Regions from separate parts of the Homo sapiens genome. Here regions 1, 3 and 4 are each linked to region 2. Evidence: promoter capture Hi-C in 16 types of primary human blood cells and fetal thymus (Javierre and others, 2016). All regions are on one chromosome and are shown on one strand. Each heading gives the region's core, a stretch centred on a gene start or on the middle of the fragment in contact. The rest is flanking DNA. Distances are from core to core; before and after follow the strand shown. Region 1 has its middle 27 kb from the start of GOLGA8B. Region 2 holds the start of EMC4 (ER membrane protein complex subunit 4). Region 3 has its middle 7.8 kb from the start of GOLGA8B. Region 4 has its middle 36 kb from the start of MIR1233-2.

Evidence for each region. The method cuts DNA at HindIII sites, captures the fragments that hold promoters and counts their contacts. A CHiCAGO score of 5 or more calls a contact.
Region 1: a contact is called between a fragment that was not itself captured here and the fragment with the promoter of EMC4 in region 2, in 1 of 17 cell types (total CD8 T cells). The highest score is 5.6, in total CD8 T cells.
Region 3: a contact is called between a fragment that was not itself captured here and the fragment with the promoter of EMC4 in region 2, in 7 of 17 cell types (non-activated CD4 T cells, naive CD8 T cells, fetal thymus and 4 more). The highest score is 10.2, in non-activated CD4 T cells.
Region 4: a contact is called between a fragment that was not itself captured here and the fragment with the promoter of EMC4 in region 2, in 1 of 17 cell types (total CD4 T cells). The highest score is 5.0, in total CD4 T cells.

The regions. Positions count from the first base shown.
Region 1 is chr15:34,608,555-34,612,850 of GRCh38, reverse strand. No RefSeq gene overlaps it. Among named protein-coding and RNA genes, the nearest start is that of GOLGA8B, 27 kb to the right of the region's middle. The HindIII fragment of the contact is 1,108 bases long and covers 1,600-2,707 here.
Region 2 is chr15:34,222,211-34,226,373 of GRCh38, reverse strand. EMC4 (ER membrane protein complex subunit 4) reads right to left here and starts at 1,358. Exons shown (of 5, transcript NM_016454.4): 1 at 1,174-1,358; 2 at 724-838. The coding sequence starts at 1,259. RefSeq lists an enhancer at 995-1,044. The HindIII fragment of the contact is 12,421 bases long and covers 1-1,862 here.
Region 3 is chr15:34,589,379-34,593,621 of GRCh38, reverse strand. No RefSeq gene overlaps it. Among named protein-coding and RNA genes, the nearest start is that of GOLGA8B, 7.8 kb to the right of the region's middle. The HindIII fragment of the contact is 8,309 bases long and covers 1-4,243 here.
Region 4 is chr15:34,489,700-34,494,275 of GRCh38, reverse strand. It overlaps the pseudogene HNRNPLP2. Among named protein-coding and RNA genes, the nearest start is that of MIR1233-2, 36 kb to the left of the region's middle. RefSeq lists an enhancer at 3,289-3,790. The HindIII fragment of the contact is 529 bases long and covers 1,126-1,654 here.

The sequences.
Region 1 (4,296 bases), core at 904-3,403, 390 kb before region 2:
TAGTCCCACAAGATAACTGCAAAAATGTCTTGTTGCCAAATACATTCAACAGTGAACTATACAGTTGCCTCCAAGAAATTCACTGCACATTGGTCTGTTCATTGCTTTAAGAAATCTTGCAGTTAAAAACAAACAAAAAAATGTTCTTAGTATGTTTTAAAATATAGCATCTCCAAGATTATTTAAAACTTATTTTCCTTGTTGTTTCTCCGAATAGCTCTCAAAAGAACTGTTGGAAAATATTGCTTAACATGATTGATCTTCCATTTGACTGACCTGCATTTACACCCATGCCTATTTTGTGTAGGTGATCAATTCATTTGTCAAGAGTGCTTTTATAATTATGCATGAAAATGCACAACAGATTGTCATTCCTCAAAAATGCTACTATTATCACCTGTAATTAAGTCTACCAAATTTACACTAGAAAAAAAAAACACAGAGAGAACAATGGGTAGTTGTTAGATCATTTAGCAACCAGAGGTAAAAATTAGTAGCAGAAACAAAATTGTTGTTATTTCTCAAATTATTTTTCAAAGGACGTTGTTGCCTTATTAACTAATATTTGATTGGGGTCATTTACAACCATTAATCTAGAAAAGAAATTCTTTTACTGCAATGTGCCTCCTCTATGTACGTGTGTGAATGAGTGTCTGTCCATTTTCTTTATTTAAAGTTCCAAGTTACTTATTCATTCATTAGGTAATCTTTTCACATGGAACAAAATTTTTGTGGTAATTTATGATAATTGAAAAAAAAAGATTTGGCGTGATTATAAACCTATTTAGATATTTCTGCCTGCATCTATATCATATCAAAAAAAGTAAAATCTGTTGATTCTCACAACTTACTAGCCAAGTCTTAGATGCTGGTTGAAAATGAAGATACCTGGGTTAGTTCCCAAAAACTGTGATTAATTTGGTTGGGAGTAGGAGCTAGAAGTCTATTCTTAAGAAACTGTAGTGAATCTGATATTAGTTGGTGTGGGAAACAGGCTTAGAGAAATATCGATCTATTGCAAAAGGCGCACTTCTCTTTGGACACCTGAAAAAAACAGCATGCATTAAATGCATTAAAACTCTATTAAGGATACTTCCATAAAATGGTTCCAAAAATATATTGATATAGCATATAAGATTTTGATAATTTTCAGGGTAATGCTGATAATGTTTTTAAATAAATCAGTTCATTTGTTTTGGCTTTTCCTTCTCCCTGTTTCTTGCTAAATATTGTAGATCTGCCACCTTTTAAAAAATAGATGACACTTCCACTTCCCACTCCCACTAATATACTTACAGCTCGTCTTCAGTGAAAATTCTATTGAATGTTCTTGTGCTCCAACAGAAAGGAAAAACACAGTAGCACTTTATTACTTAATGTTGGAGAAGTTACTCACCTTGTCTGAAATTTATTTCCTGTCCTGTAAAATTGTGCTAATACAGTACAGTGTTATTTTAAGGATCAAATTTAAAAATGCATGTGAAAGGTCTTTCGAAAATAAAGAGGTGTTGTAAGAATGTGAGGCATCACCCCCCCGCCATGCATTCATTTGAATCATGCCATTTAAGAATTTTTTTATTGTGTTAAAGTAAAAAAGCTTTTAAAAATGAATTAAACCAAAGTAAAGTTGAATTAAATTAAAAATTAACACTATCAAAACCCTATTCTGCTATTCTATGAAAAAATAAATTCACTAAACAAAAAATATACTGCATTTGGCCAGGTGTGGTGGCTCATGACTGTAATCCTACCACTTTGGGAGGCCGAAGCGGGTGGATTGTCTGAGCTCAGGAGTTCGAGACCAGCCTGGGCAACATGGTGAAACCCAGTCTCTACTAAAACACAAAAAATTAGCCGGGCGTGGTGGCGGGCGCCTGTAGTCCCAGCCACTCGGGAAGCTGAGGCACAAGAATTGCTTGAATCCAGGAGGTGGAGGTTGCAGTGAGCTGAGATCACACCACTGCACTCCAGTCTGGGTGACAGAGACAAGACTTGGTCTCCAAAAAATTTAAAAAAAAAAAGTATTGCATTGTTGAAGGTTCACACAGAACAAAACATGCTGTTTAAATTTTTCCACTTATTTGTAAAAAGGAGAATCTTAGTCCACTGCTGAAGAAGAACATTTTCATGAATGTTTTGCTTGAGCTTGCAAAGCTAAACAAACCTCTGGTACTTTATATAAGAGAGATATTCTTAGAAGCCTCTGCCACCTAGTGTACAAAGGCCATCCTAGAAATCTGAATGACTTGGTTTAATTGCCTTATCTGCTACATCTTGTCTTCAGAGAATTATCTTTAAGTATATCTAGGTCAGATTTGAAGTTATAATTTGAGGTGGGAATAACACACACTGCATTTTCTAAAGAGCATCTGGCATGAGAATCAATACATTTCATTTTCATTTTAGCAGCACTTTAAAGTCCCATTTATAAATGTTTTAATAAGGCAGTAAGAGACTCCTGGGTGTGTTTTAGTCTTTCATTAATATATACCTCTTGTGTGTTGCAAGATACATGCTTACTGAATAAGCCTTTGACCATTCAAAGTCAAATTAATGATCCAATAAAGCAAAGCCCATGGTATCTTAATGGCAGCAAAATACACTCTTTAATTTAGAAGATAAAATATTATATTATATTTTCCTCTCCAACAACTCGTAAGTATATGCATAAAAGAAGTATCAAGGGATTCAAAGAAATAGCGAAGCTTCTTTAGCCATATTTTTACACACAACATGTCTCCCCACCTCTCATTTTTAGCTTTAGATTTAATTATTTCCAGCTCAGTTTTACAGAGGAGTGGAAGGTGGAACTTGAGGGTTGGCAGTGGAGGGGTTTGTAAAGCTATACTCTTTAAAAATGTGTTTAAAAGTAAAACGTCAACCACACCGCTTCCTCTTTCCGTCCTGTCATTGTTTTCAAGGCACCCACTCCCCTGCCCAGTTTGCTAAAGGCAGAGGGAGATGTGTGAAGGTTATGTTCTGCCGTGTGGTTCAGAGAAGCAAAATTTTCCCGCAGCTCTAAATCAGTTCACAATGAACTAGATCTCAGCAATGAGCTTTCGCTGTCTGCTCATTCTGCTACCTGACATTCGTGAGAGGAACCAGATGGCCCTCATGTCAATCTGGCCTGCCAGGTTTGGTACTGAGATTTCATCTCCTTCCCTTCAGCTGCCTGAGCCTGAGTGAAGTTCACATGCACACATCTCCAGTAAAATCTCACTGTAATGTGCAGGTCTTTCTTGCACTTTTGCCCTGCCAAACCTGCCTCTCTTAGGGACTCAAGACGGCATAATGCCTTGTTATTTTAATGTGCTCTGCAATGATTGAACTGTTCTCAGGAGATCATTTTTGCACATCAAAACCCATTAAAATTAGCAAGAATTGTCGGGAAATGAGCAAATAAAAAAGAATAATTCATCTCTCTCTCTCTCTGTTTTAAATTCGCCAAGCCTCCTTTTGATGGCTAAAAGCAACTGGTAGCAGAAAGCATGCATCAGTTTAAAAAAAAATTAGCTTTAAGCAAAAGATGTCAAGAAATTCTTCCAAATTATGTGTTATGATAGCAAGCTGGTGAGCACTGGGATAAAAACCCATGTCATAATTGTAGAGGATGTGCTAAGACGTCGGGGGAGCAAAATCCATGAGTGAGTACAGATGATACCTATAGCAGTACTACTGCATCTTTCTGGGGAAAACATGCAGCAAACATCCTGATCAGAGACTAACAGGCCCTCACAAGAGTGACCTTTTTTTAAAATTGAGAATAATTTTTATTGTTAAGAAAGCATAACCAGCAATAAAAGTACTATTTTTGGTTCTAAATGATAGAAAACCAAATATATTTTGTTCATGGTACAAGGAAGCCTAAGGTCAAGTTGATTACAGAAGCAACTAGTTCCAGATATTCAATAAGATCTTCATCTCTCTTCTGTTTCTGTTGTATTTCTATCTGGGCATCTGTCTCCTTTTCTCCGTGTATCTTTGCCCCTGTATAGTTCTTTCTGCATATCTCTCTGCATTTTCTGTCTCTGTCCCCCTGTTGTGTCTCTTTCACTGCAGTGCCTTTCTATTTTTCTAATTTATTGTCACTATTTATCTGCATTTTTCTATCTCTGTGTTTCTTTATGCATATCTCTATTTTTCTGCATTTCTCTTCCTTATCACCTCATATCTTTTCTCATCTCTCTCCCTCTGTGTGTGTGTGTGTATGTGTTTGTGTGTGTGTGTCTGTCTCTGTTACATATGTTTCTAGAATGTCTACCAGAGACAATTTAACAATTTTAGGAAATTTAATTT
Region 2 (4,163 bases), core at 109-2,608:
GAGAGGAGACAAAATATTCAATATCAGGAATGAAAAAATGAACATCACAGATCTTGCATATATGGAAGTGATCATATTATGAACAACTTTATATCAATACATTTGAAATTTTAGGAAATGGATAAGTTTCTAGAAAAAATGTAACAAAATGACAGGAGAAATTAGAAATATAAATAGCCCCGGGCCGAGCGCGGTGGCTCATGCCTGCAATCCCAGCACTTTGGAAGGCCAAGGCGGATGGATCACCTGAGGTCAGGAGTTCAAGACCAGCCTGGCAAACATGGTGATACCCTGTCTGTACTAAAAATACAAAAATTAGCCGGGCTACTGCAGAAATCTAGATGAAGGATGGTGGCTTGGATTAGGATGAGAGGTGAACACAGGAAAAAGTAGTAGGTAAAGCCAACAGAGTATCCTGACAGTTGGATATGTGGTGTAAGGGAACCAGAGTAGAAAAAGGATCACTTCAACTGGAAGATGTTGCCACCAAAAGATAGTTTTCAACCTACTTTCTTATACCTTATGTTCCAAACATCTTCTATTTTTCAAATTATTAAGCACTTTTGTAGCTGATATATAAAATACCGAAATACCAGCCTCAAGCAGTTTAGTTTCCAAATCTTCAGGATAAGAGCTATCTACGTTAACTCCACCTAGGAGAAGAGGATGAGTGTGTAACTCAGGACTGGCCCATGGGCTACGGTAACATCTATACCTCTGTACCTTCTCCACCAGGATCCGGTCTGTCTCTTGCACGCTGGTATCAGGCACTTGCTTGTCCAAGTAACCGACTGGGTAGAGCGAGTCTCCCTGGCCACTGCCCCGGTCACTTCGACCCCTAAAAAACCAAACCAAGAAACTAAAGCTGCAACCTCCGATACTTCTTATCCCACATTTCCTGATCTACCAATCATAGGAATAAAGATCTTCAGATGCACCTACTCAGATTAGACCAAGCCCCCTCGTATGTTCCTCAGTCCTTTGACTTATCAGGAGGACTGATGTAAGCATTGTTTGAGCAGAGAAACTTCCACGGCAGAAAAGCCGCTACCTCCCCAGGTGATGTCTGTGTGCCACCCATCTTTTTCAGAGTTATGCCTGAGGGCTCAGGTCTCATTACTCTGGTGCAGTTCTGGGATGAACAGTGATGTACAGCTTGCCCAGGTGCCTCACCTGCTGCCTCCTCCAGGCCCGCTTAGCTCAATGGCCCACTTGAAGCGCCGGCCTCGGTTAGCCACCAGGCCCCCCTGGGCCGTCATGGCAACAGCTGCGTCCTATAGCCTCGATGCTTCTCAGTCCAAAGCGTACTCCACAACAGGCCCACCAGCGTTCTCCGCTTTGTCTCACTCTGCAAATGCACTTCCGGCGCGTGAATACGACGTCATTTCCGCCCTGGAAATTGGTGGTGCTGTGGGTTGAGGAGTCCGGGTTTGGATTTAGAAAAGCAGGGAGGAAAAAAAACCAGGCAAGACTTAGTGCTTCCTAAAGCCACTTCCGCGCGCTCCCCTTTTGAATGTCCTTGTTATGTGTTCCCTGACCTCTGAGGTGCACTTTATGGGGCTGAAGGAAAGCCCATACTGACTCAGCGTTAAGAATTGGTGGGCGGATCACCTGAAGTCAGGAGTTCGAGACCAGCCTGGCTAACATGGTGAAACCCCGTCTCTACTAAAAATACAAAATATTAGCCGGGCTTAGTGGCGGGCGCCTGTAATCCCAGCTACTTAGGAGGCTGAGGCAGGAGAATCGCTTGGATCCGGGAGCCGGAGGTTGCAGTGAACTGAGACCGAGCGATTGCACGCCAGCCTGGGCAGCAAGAGCGAAACTCTGTCTCAAAAAAAAAAAAAAGGAAGCCAAGAAAAGCTTCTTAACCTCCTACGCGCTCCCTGGAACAAAAGATTCAAATCCTGGGTTTAAATCCTAGCTTGACCTTGAGCGAGTTACTTAGTAGTTTCTGAGTATTGAATGTCCACTGTGTCATGTGTTTATTTCATTTCACTTGCACAGTAACCTTGCGAGGTAAACAGTTCTAACCACATTCTGCACAAAGGCAAGGCAGCATTGTGGGCATGGAAGGGGACATGGGCTCGGTATTCAGTTAGCCTGCGTTTGTTGTTGTTTGTTTTGGGTTTGTTTTTTGAGACAGGGTTTCACTCCGTTGCCGAGGCTGTAGTGCAGTGGCGCTATCACGGCTCACTGCAGCCTCGACTTCCCCGGCTCAAGCGATCTTCCCACCTGAGCGTTCCTTCCAACCTGAGCGTTCCGAGGAGCTAGGACCACAGGGCGCGCCACCACGCCCCAGTCTTGTTTTGTTTTGTTTTGTTTTGTTTTGACAGGGTTTCGCTATGTTGCTCAGGCTGCTCTCAAACTCTTGGGTTCAAGTGATTCTCCTGCCTTGGCCTCCCAAAATGTTGAGATTACAAAGGCATGGGCCACTGCACCCAGCAGATGGCCTCCTTTTGAATCCTGGTTTCACCACTTAATAATTGTATGACCTTGGGCAAGTTGAATTTGTTTCAGCCTCTTCATGTAAAAGTTGGATAATCTACCTACTTTCAAGGCTTGTGAGATTAGTGCCCACCACATATCTGGTGTTTGGTTTGTTTGTGTTTTTGTTCGAGACGGAGTTTTGCTTTTGTTGCCCAGGCTGGAGTGCAATGGCACTATCTCGGCTCACTGCAACCTCCGTCTCCCGGGTTCAAGCAATTCTCCTGCCTCAGCCTCCCGAGTACCAGGGATTACAGGCGCACGCCACCACGTCCAGCTAATTTTGTATTTTTAGTAGAGATGGGATTTCACCGTGTTGGTCAGGCTGGTTTCGAACTCCCGACCTCAGGTGATCTGCCTGCCTCGGCCTCCCAAAGTGCTAGGTTATGTGGTGTTTTTAATGATGTATCACATCATTACCAAATAACACCATTGATGTGTTTTTAATGACGTGTCATTAAATAATGTATGTCATTCTTTAAAGTGATTGGGTTTTGTATGGTATACCTTTTTCATAATATAGCCTATTATTGGACATTTAAATTGTTTCCTGTTTTCCTTCCTTTTATAACCAGTGTTGCTGTGAACATATCTGTATGTCTTTTCTTATTTCCTAAAGTTATAGTCCTAGAAGTGAAATTGGAGTTGCTGGATCAAAGAGTATGCACATTTTTAAAGAATTTTCATTTTAAATGCCCACAGGAGCCAGGCGTGGTGGCTCACACCTGTCATCCCAGAACTTTGGGAGGCTGAGGCAGGAGGATTGCTTTAGCTCAGAAGTTCAAGACCAGCCTAGGCAACATAGTGAGACCTTGCCTCTGCAAACAACAACAAAAAAAATTAAAATGTCCACTAGGAAAAATGGCACCATTTACATTTCACAGTCTATAATTTTTTTAATAGTTTGAAATGGTACTGTATTATTTTTTAATTTGTATTTCTTTGACTCCAAGTTATTCGATATGGCTGGAGTTAGGGGGAAGGAGATGCTGTGGGAGGTAAGGTTGAAAAAGGCTTCCTTGGCCAACAAAAAAGTTGGGACTCTTGAAGATGATGATGATGTAAGAGAGGCTGAAGATTGCCACCTCCACTTTATTTTCTGATTTTAAAAATATGTGTTCATAGCAGACTACTTAAACAAGGCAGAAATGGAAGTCTTTTGCCTCTCCAATCCATCCTAAAATGTGTATCTATCTGATTGTAGGAAGACCTAACTATAGATTGTGTTTCTGCTCCTTTCTACTTTTTGTCTTTACCACGTTCTGTCTCATGAACCTTATATTTATCTCAAGCTTCTGACCCTATTGGGCATTCTTCTTTGTTGCATTATATGCTGCATAATAGCACTTACCACATTGCATTTTGTTTGTTAAAGTCCCCTGAGCACTTATTTCTACCCCTCTATAGGCAACCCTAAATCCCCCCAGGTCAGAAGCTATATATTATCTTTGAGCCTGTTGCCTAGAACATAGAAAGTACTGAATAAATGTTTAGCGAATGTGAGTAAATTAAATTGAAAGTAAACAAACACCAAGATGTGAATGTACTATAACTACACTTGTGCAAAATAAAACATAAAAATGGATATACATTCTATTGGGGCAATAATTTTCACGCAATTTTGTCTAATTTTCAAGATAATCTTATTACACTTTTCTTTTTTTTTTTTGAGACAGAGT
Region 3 (4,243 bases), core at 391-2,890, 370 kb before region 2:
GAGACCACATATATGACATTGCAGCTAGAGATTAAAAACTAAATGATTTCCCCTTAAAATCAAAAGTCAGACAAAAATGTCAACTCTAAACACTTCTATTCAACATTTAGTTGATGTTCTAAATAGTTCAAAATAACAAGAAAAATTAATAAATGCTATTCAGAGTAGACAGCAAATGCAAAACTGTATTTACAGACAATATGATTGTCTACATAGAAAATCCTATAGAATCTAAAAAGGAGACATTAAAACTAATTAGAAACTTTAGCAATTTTGTAGGATCAACATAAACACATTAGTCATATTTCTATACACTACTAATGAACATTGGAAATTGAAATAAAAGTAATTGTACCATTTGCAATAGCCTCAAAAAAAAAAAAAGAGAAACACTTATGGATAAATGTAACAAAAGATGTGCCAGACCTGAGGACTGAAAACTTCAAAACATTGCTAAGAAAGAATGATGAAAACCCTAGTAAATGGAGAAGCATTTATAGATTGAAAGACCCAATATTGGCCGGGCACGGTGGCTCACGCCTGTAATCCCAGCACTTTGGGAGGCCGAGGTGGGCAGATCGCGAGGTCAGGAGATCGAGACCATCCTGCCTAACACGGCAAAACCCTGTCTCTACTAAAAATACGAAAAATTAGCCGGGCGTGGCGGCGGGTGCCTGTAGTCCCAGCTACTCGGGAGGCTGAGGCAGGAGAATGGCGCGAACCCGGGAGGCAGAGTTTGCAGTGAGCCGAGATCGCGCCACTGCACTCCAGCCTGGGTGACAGAGCGAGACTCCGTCTCAAAAAAAAGAAAAAATAAAACAAAAGACCCAACATTATTAAGAGATCAATTCTCCCCCAAGCAATGAAATAATCAAATGTAAAAGCAAATGAACTTCAATCCTTAATTCGCATTGTATATAACACATAATTTGAAAGGGATTTTTGACATAAATATTATAGTTTAAAGAAGAAAAATTTCCAGAATAAGATATAGGAGAAATAACCAACATGGAGAAACTCTGTCTCTACTAAAAATATAAAATTAGCTGGGCGTGGTGGCACATGCCTGTAATCCCAGCTACTCAGGAAGGCTGAGGCAGAAGAATCGCTTGAACCCGGGAGGCAGAGATTGCGGTGAGCCGAGATCGCGCCACTGCACTTCAGCCTGGGCAACAAGAGCGAAACTCGGTCTCAAAAAAAAGATTTAAAAAAAAAAAGGTATAGGAGAAATATTTATGATCATTGGTATGGTAAAAATTCTTAATCACGATATGAAAAACACAACACATACACAAAGTGAAAAGACAAGCCACAAACCTAGAGAAATGGTTTTTTAAACACATATTTAATGTATATAAAAACCTTTCAATAATCAATAAAAACCTCATTAAAAAATCAAATAGGCACTCTCAAAAAGATGTACAGGTAGCAAAAAAGCAAAGCGAGTAAGGAAGGGAGAGCAGGAGGGAAGCTCAGAGAGGTCACTGGGAACTAAGTACTGCAGGACTTATTAGGCCATCCTAAGGCTTTCAAGTTCATTCTGAGAAATACAAAAACTTTGGGGCCAGGATTGGGGTGGTTCATGCCTGTAATCCCAGCACTCTGGGAGGCCAAGGCAGGTGCATCACAAGGTCAGGAGTTCGAGACCAGCCTGACCAACATGGTGAAACCCTGTCTCTACTAAAAATACAAAAACTAGCCAGGCATGGTGGCGGGCGCCTGTAATCCCAGCTACTCAGGAGGCTGAGGCAGAAGAATCGCTTGAACCCAGGAGGCAGAGGTTGTGGTGGGCCGAGATCATACCACTGCACTCCAGCCTGGATGACAAAGCGAGACTCTGTCAAGAAAAAAGAAAGAAAAGAAAGAAAAGAAGGAAGGAAGGAAGGAACTGACTTTGAATTATTGTAGTAGAGGGTGATGGACCTGACACAGATTTCCGGTCAGGAAAGGAAGAAAGGAAGGCAGGCAGGCAGGCAGGCAGGCAGGCAGGAAGAAAATGACTTTGAATCATTGTAGCAGAGGGTGATGGACCTGAAACAGATTTCCGCTTTGTTAGGAACAGATTATGCAGGGCAGGGGGAGGAGCAGAGAAGCAAGGGTGGAAGTAGGGAGAGCGGTTGGAATTAACGATGGAATCTCAGCAAAAGATTCAGAAATCCCAGAGGGAGATGATAGTGTACCACACCCGGGTGAAAGATGGCTGCATTTTGAATGTATTTAGAAGATCTGTGCAGATGGGCTGAATGCAGATTAATGTGGAATGTGGATAAGGTGAAAAGTCAAGATTGAAGACAAGATTTTGAGTCTGGGGAACAGAAAGCTGGAATTAGCATAAAAATGTGTTAATGACTGAGATCAAGGGTTTAGGAGAGAAGATCAGTTTTGTTTTGAACATCTGAAGTTTCAGATATTTATAGACATTGAGCTGAATATGCCAAGTAAGCAGTTGGATATACAAGCCTGAAATTTGTGAAAGACTGGGTTCATAAAATAAATATGTTAATCAATATCATATTGATGTATTTAAAGGCATAAGTCTGAATGATATCCTCAAGATTGCAAAGAGTACGTCAGTGGTTTTCAGCTGAAGGCAATTATTTCTCCCCAGGGTACAGCTGGCAATGTCTGAAGACATTTTTGGTTGTCACAGTTGGGGAATGAATTACTAGTGGCATCTAATAGGTAGAGGCTATTAGAGACCAGGGATGCTGCTGAACATCCTACAATGCACAGGATAGCCCCACATATAAAGAATTGTCTGACCCAAAATGTCAGCAGAGCCATGGTTTAGAAAGCCTGCTTCAAAGGGTTTCTAAGAGAAGAGAACGGAACCAGAGCCTGGGCTCTCAGGTGTACCAATATTAAAGATGGCGGAGAGAAGGGGAGAAATTAACAATGGAGGTTAGGAAAGATGACCAGTGAGAAAGAATCACAACCAAGAGAATGTGGAATCCGTGCAGCCACGAGAAGAAATGTACCAAACAACAGGGAGAAATAAAAAGTGTCAAATGCTGCTGCTAGGCCAAATAAAAAGATACTCAAGTAACCACCACTGGGCTTAGCAATGCAGAGGTCACTGGTGACATTAAACAAAGAAGTTTCGGTAGAGCAGTGTGAGGTGAAAGCAACTTCCGAATGTTCGGCAACATACGATACATTTTCTGATCTGGTTATTGCCAACCTTTGAATTCAAAAATTAAACTAAAAATCATATATGGCTATAACCATAGCATAGTGAATCAGCTACTCTCTGACATCCTAATCAAATAGGTAATTTTAAGTGGGATGACTTTTTCCTGCTTTATTCCTCCCACTCCCCAGTTTACAACTTGTTAAATCGACTGGAATAAAATTAATATCTACCCAGAGACACAGGACTTTTTACTCAGATGAAGAATATTTTTCAAATAATTCTTTTGATACCAATTTTTTTAATCTTCAAACTTAAAAAAGACAATCTCAAATAAAATTATACTATATTTTGAATAGATGAACACTAAACTATTTTTTATATATACTTTAAGTTCTAGGGTACATGTGCACAACGTGCAGATTTGTTACATATGTATACATGTGCCATGTTGGTTAGCTGCACCTATTAACTCGTCATTTACATTAGGTATTTCTCCTAATGCTATCCCTCCCCCATCCCCTCACCCCACGACAGGCCCCGGTGGATGAACACTAAACTTTTTAACTATCAGGATTGTCCATTTTATATCCTTACTTTTAGTGGCTTAAATAAACCTCATTTTCTTTTATGGCAGTACATGTTTCTCACCTCTGTTCACAGAGTTTCTAATCTGTCTCTGATTTAATATGTCTCATAGTTTCTAATATGCCTCTGCTTTAAAGTACTTCCTAAAAATTTTATCCACACTACAGACTACAACTTGTCCATCTGGGAAGACATTATCTAAATACATTTATGATTGTAAATTCTCTTTTAGGACCTTTATATTAACCCCACACCCCGCCATTGGTAAGAAATCATATTTGAGAAAAATGTGGGAAAGCTAGCATTTGATTTGATGGCATTAATCACTGATATACAGATGTGCTAATTATTGACTTCAGCAGAACTTTTAACACAACTACTTTAATGAGTTTTTGAAGGGGAAAATGTTGGTTATATACTTTCTGACAAAAAATAGTCAAGCACGGTAGCTCACACCTATAATCCCAGCACTTTGTGAGGCCGTGGCAGGTGGATCACTTGAGGTCAGGAGTTCGAGACCAATCT
Region 4 (4,576 bases), core at 141-2,640, 270 kb before region 2:
GTTAACAGATTTAAACAGAGTTTAGCTATGAAGCAATGAGTAATGGAATACAAACTAGTGAAAAAGATGAACAACTAGGGATTAAATGTTGAGGAAAATTCTTTTCTAATGAATTAATTTTGAATCGATAAGAGACAAAGAATAGGGACTTTTAAATATACAACTTTGGTGACAAAGTATTTGTCTATACAAGTTTCTTATGTCTAGTGCCTTCCTTACCTCCCCAATATTATTTTATAACTCTCTGATAATTTCTAAAAGATACATATGAGATATTCATATCTAAAAAAGTCACCAATATTTTGAACTAGTATCAAAAATAAAGAAGTATTTGACATAGGTTTATTTACTGGTTTTTACATAAATAAAATACAAATATAAATCACAACAGCAAAGATAATAATTAAAAACTGCATACTCACCTTAGGGTTTTTAAATAAGCTAATTGTTTTTCTTCTACACAAATAGCTAAAAATGTACAGTGAATACAAATGTACTTAATTTCTCCTTCTTTTTCTATATTTTGATTGGCTAGTGAACTGTCAAAAAGTGATGATGCTGAATTTTTGCTATTTTCTCTCTAAAGTGATGTTCTGAAAGAAATATATATATAATTTGCGGTTGTGAAGAAGCCCTTTTTTTAGTGCTAATTTATTTCCTTTGCGTACTTTGCAGTGGACATACATGTTAAAAATTTAACAGAAAGAAGAGGATAAAATAATCATGACATGAAGCCCTTTTAGAAATTAGCAATGTTCTCTATTAATAATGGTGTGATGATATGCCACTCCATGAGCTCTTGAACCAAGTTATTCATTATTTCTCTGCCACATGGAAGCAGGATATTTGGTCTTTGTCCTATCTCAATGCGATGCCTATGGTTTTGTTACAGAAACCTTAATTTTGCCTGCTTTTAAGTAAAGCAGTTTTTATGCAGACTTCTCAGAGGGCAGCCAGATAACTTTCAAGCACATTTGAAACACCAGAGGTGACTCTGCCAAGTGCCCCAGAGAAAAATTCAAACTATGATAAAGACACTTCTTCAACCCATCTTTCTAAAGTTGCTGACTCTACAGGTTTATTATAAGCATTAGACGAAACCAGTGAGAGGCATGTGTCAAAGCTTGAATGTGCAGCTCCAGGTTAGAATGTCAGCTTTTCCTTTGGGTTACTGAAGAAGGAGAAAAGCCATTATCCATGCATGAAACAATAAGATATATGGCCAATGAAATGGAAGGCATACATTTGGTAATCCAATCCCAATATTTGCCATTTGCTTTAGTGGGGCTAAAATAGGTCACTTAAGTGGTTTATGCTCCACCTTCTAGAAGTGAGCAGAAAAATATTTTAAATTAATGGTTATTTTACCATCAGCATTTTTTTAAAATTGAAAATGGAACACCGGTTTTATAACTAGTTTCTTCATTTTATTATTTAATGAGGTGGCTAGCCTTGATTTGAAAGGTTTTTTCTAACATGACTAGCTTTCTGACACTCTAATGCCCATTTTCTAAGACTTCTGTGCTGTAAGCTATTTTAACAAAGGGTAAGTGGTATGTCTTTAAATTCTGATTTTAGAGGAATTCCTAAGTTCTCACTACTTTCACATATTATTTTATCTACTGTGGAATGATAACTTTGTTAACATGAAGCTTTTCAAGCTGTCACTGTATTCCATCGGGTATTTCGGTTGGTTCATCAAAGTGAAATGAAATGAAAATGCAGGAAAAACAAATGAATAGAACACAATTAAGAGTAATTCATTTTGGCCAGGTCCGGTGGCTCATGCCTGTACTACCAGCAGTTTGGGAGCTCAGGAGTTAGAGACCAGCCTGGCCAACCTGGTGAAACCCCGTCTCTACTAAAAATACAAAATGTAGCCAGGCGTCATGGTGCACGCCTTCTGGTACTGGAAGGCTGAGGCAGGAGAATCACTTGAACCTGGGAGGTGGAGGTTGCAGTGAGCCGAGATCATGCCACTGCACTCCAGCCTGGGCGACAGAGCGAGATTCCCTCTCAGAAAAAAAAGACTAATTCATTGAAACACCAGTTTGTAAAGCATCAGGGATGCTTTTCTCTTGTTAACTACAACATTGTTGTTGAAAACTCTGCTAAAATTTCACATTCTTTTTTTAAAAAGGTAAATGAATTTTAATAACGTATTATGCATAAAAATTATTTAAAGTTGACATTAATATAAAACTTATTGAGCTACTTTAAAGTTTTTTTCACTTCCTTTTTAAACTTTTATTTTAGGTTCGGGGGTACAAGTGCAGGTTTGTTACATAGGTAAACTTTTGTCATGGGGGTTTGTGGTACAGATTATTTCATCATCCACGTATTGAGCCTAGCACCCATTAGTTATTTTCCCTGATGATCTCCCATCTCTCTGCCTCCTCTCTCTGAAAGTCCCCAGTGTGTGTCGTTCCCCTCTGTGTGTCCATGTGAGTTCTCATCATTTAGCTCCCACTTACAAGTGAGAACATGTGGTGTTTTTCTCTTCCTATATTAGTTTGCTAAGGATAATAGCCTCCAGCTCCATCCATGTCCCTGCAAAAGACATGGTCTCTGTTCTTTTTTATGGCTGCATAGTATTCCATGGCATATATGTACCACATTTTCTTGATCCAGTGTGTCACTGATTGCCATTTTGGTTGGTTCCATGTCTTTGCTATTGTGAATTGTGCTGCAGTGTACATATGCATGCATGTGTCTTTATAACAGAATGATTTATATTCCTTTAAGTATATACCCAGTAATGGGATTGCAGGGTCCAATGCTATTTCTGTCTTTAGGCTTTTGAGGAATTGCCACACTGTCTTCCACAATGGATGAACTAACTTACACTCCCACTAACAGTGTATAAGCATTCCTTTTTCTTCACAACTTCACCAGCATCTGTTATTTTTTGACTTTTTAGTAATAGCCATTCTGGTTGGTGTAAGATGGTATCTCATTGTAGTCTTGATTTGTATTTCTCTAATTATCATGAACAGACAGTTTTGAAATTTTTACAATCTTATGAAGACAAATGAATACAGAATTTTCTGAGCTGGGGTACAAATGGCTTTTCTGGGGCAAGATTATAGAGATTAACAAAATGAGATGGGGAGAAATTGAGCTACATTATTGTCAAATTTAGCTTGCTGGGAGTAAAAAACAAAAAACCAACAAAACTGAAGTCTTGCACTTATTAGTAACTATTTCTGGCTTCCTTCCCTCTGCTAAACATGGATTGTCAGATTTCTCTCTGTGAGTTGTCCTCATCCACTACTAGAGTCAGTCAATGGCCCTACACTGTATTCCCTGGCAATGATTTTGCAAGGAGTTTCGTTCAGGTTCTTAACACTTTAAGATAATGTCAACATTCTTCCTTAACTTCTCTCTGCTTCCAATGTCTTCCATTTCTAATCCGCCCTGCACACAGAACATTTTATTTATCCTTCTTAAATACAGAAACTACTCTCAATTGTCTACAGGATAAAGCACCAACCTTTTAAACTTTACCAAACTAACTTGGAAAAGTAATTTCCTGGGAGAAGCGGCGTCGGCGGCTGGAGCAGAGGCAGCAGCGGGAGGAGCAGCAGAGGCGGTCGGGAGCGATGAAGATGGCGGCGGGGGGCGGCAGAGGCGGCGGTGGCGGCTACTAAGGCGGCGGCAGTGAGGGCGGCGGTGCCCCTAAGCGGCTCAAGACTGGCAACGCCGGCGACCAGCACGGAGGCGGCGGCGGCGGCGGTGGCGGTGGAGGAGGCGGGGCGGCGGGGGCGGCGGCGGGGAGAACTACCATGACCTGCACAAAACCCCTGCCTCCCCAGTTGTCCACAGCAGGGGCCTGATTGACGATGTGGTGGAAGCTGACCTTGTGGAGGCCTTGCAGGAGTTTGGACCCATCAGCTATGCGGTGGTAATGCCTAAAAAGAGACAAGCACTGGTGGAGTTTGAAGATGTGTTGGGGGCTTGCAACGCCGTGAGCTACGCAGCCGACAACCAAATATACATTGCCGGTCACCCAGCTTTTGTCAACTACTCTACCAGCCAGAAGATCTCCCTCCCCGGGGACTCGGATGACTCCCGGAGCGTGAACAGTGTGCTTCTCTTTACCATCCTGAACCCCATTTATTCGATCACCACGGATGTTCTTTACACTATCTGTAATCCTTGTGGCCCTGTCCAGAGAATTATCATTTTCAGGAAGAATGGAGTTCAGGCGATGGTGGAATTTGACTCTGTTCAAAGTGCCCAGCGGGCCAAGGCCTCTCTCAATGGGGCTGGTATCTATTCTGGCTGTTGCACTCTGAAGATGGAATACGCAAAGCCTACACGCTTGAATGTGTTCAAGAATGATCAGGATACTTGGGACTACACAAACCCCAATCTCAGTGGACAAGGTGACCCTGGCAGCAACCCCAACAAACGCCAGAGGCAGCCCCCTCTCCTGGGAGATCACCCCGCAGAATATGGAGGGCCCCACGGTGGGTACCACAGCCATTACCATGATGAGGGCCACGGGCCCCCCCGACCTCACTACGAAGGGAGAAGGATGGGTCCACCAGTCGGGGGTCACTGTCGGGGCCCA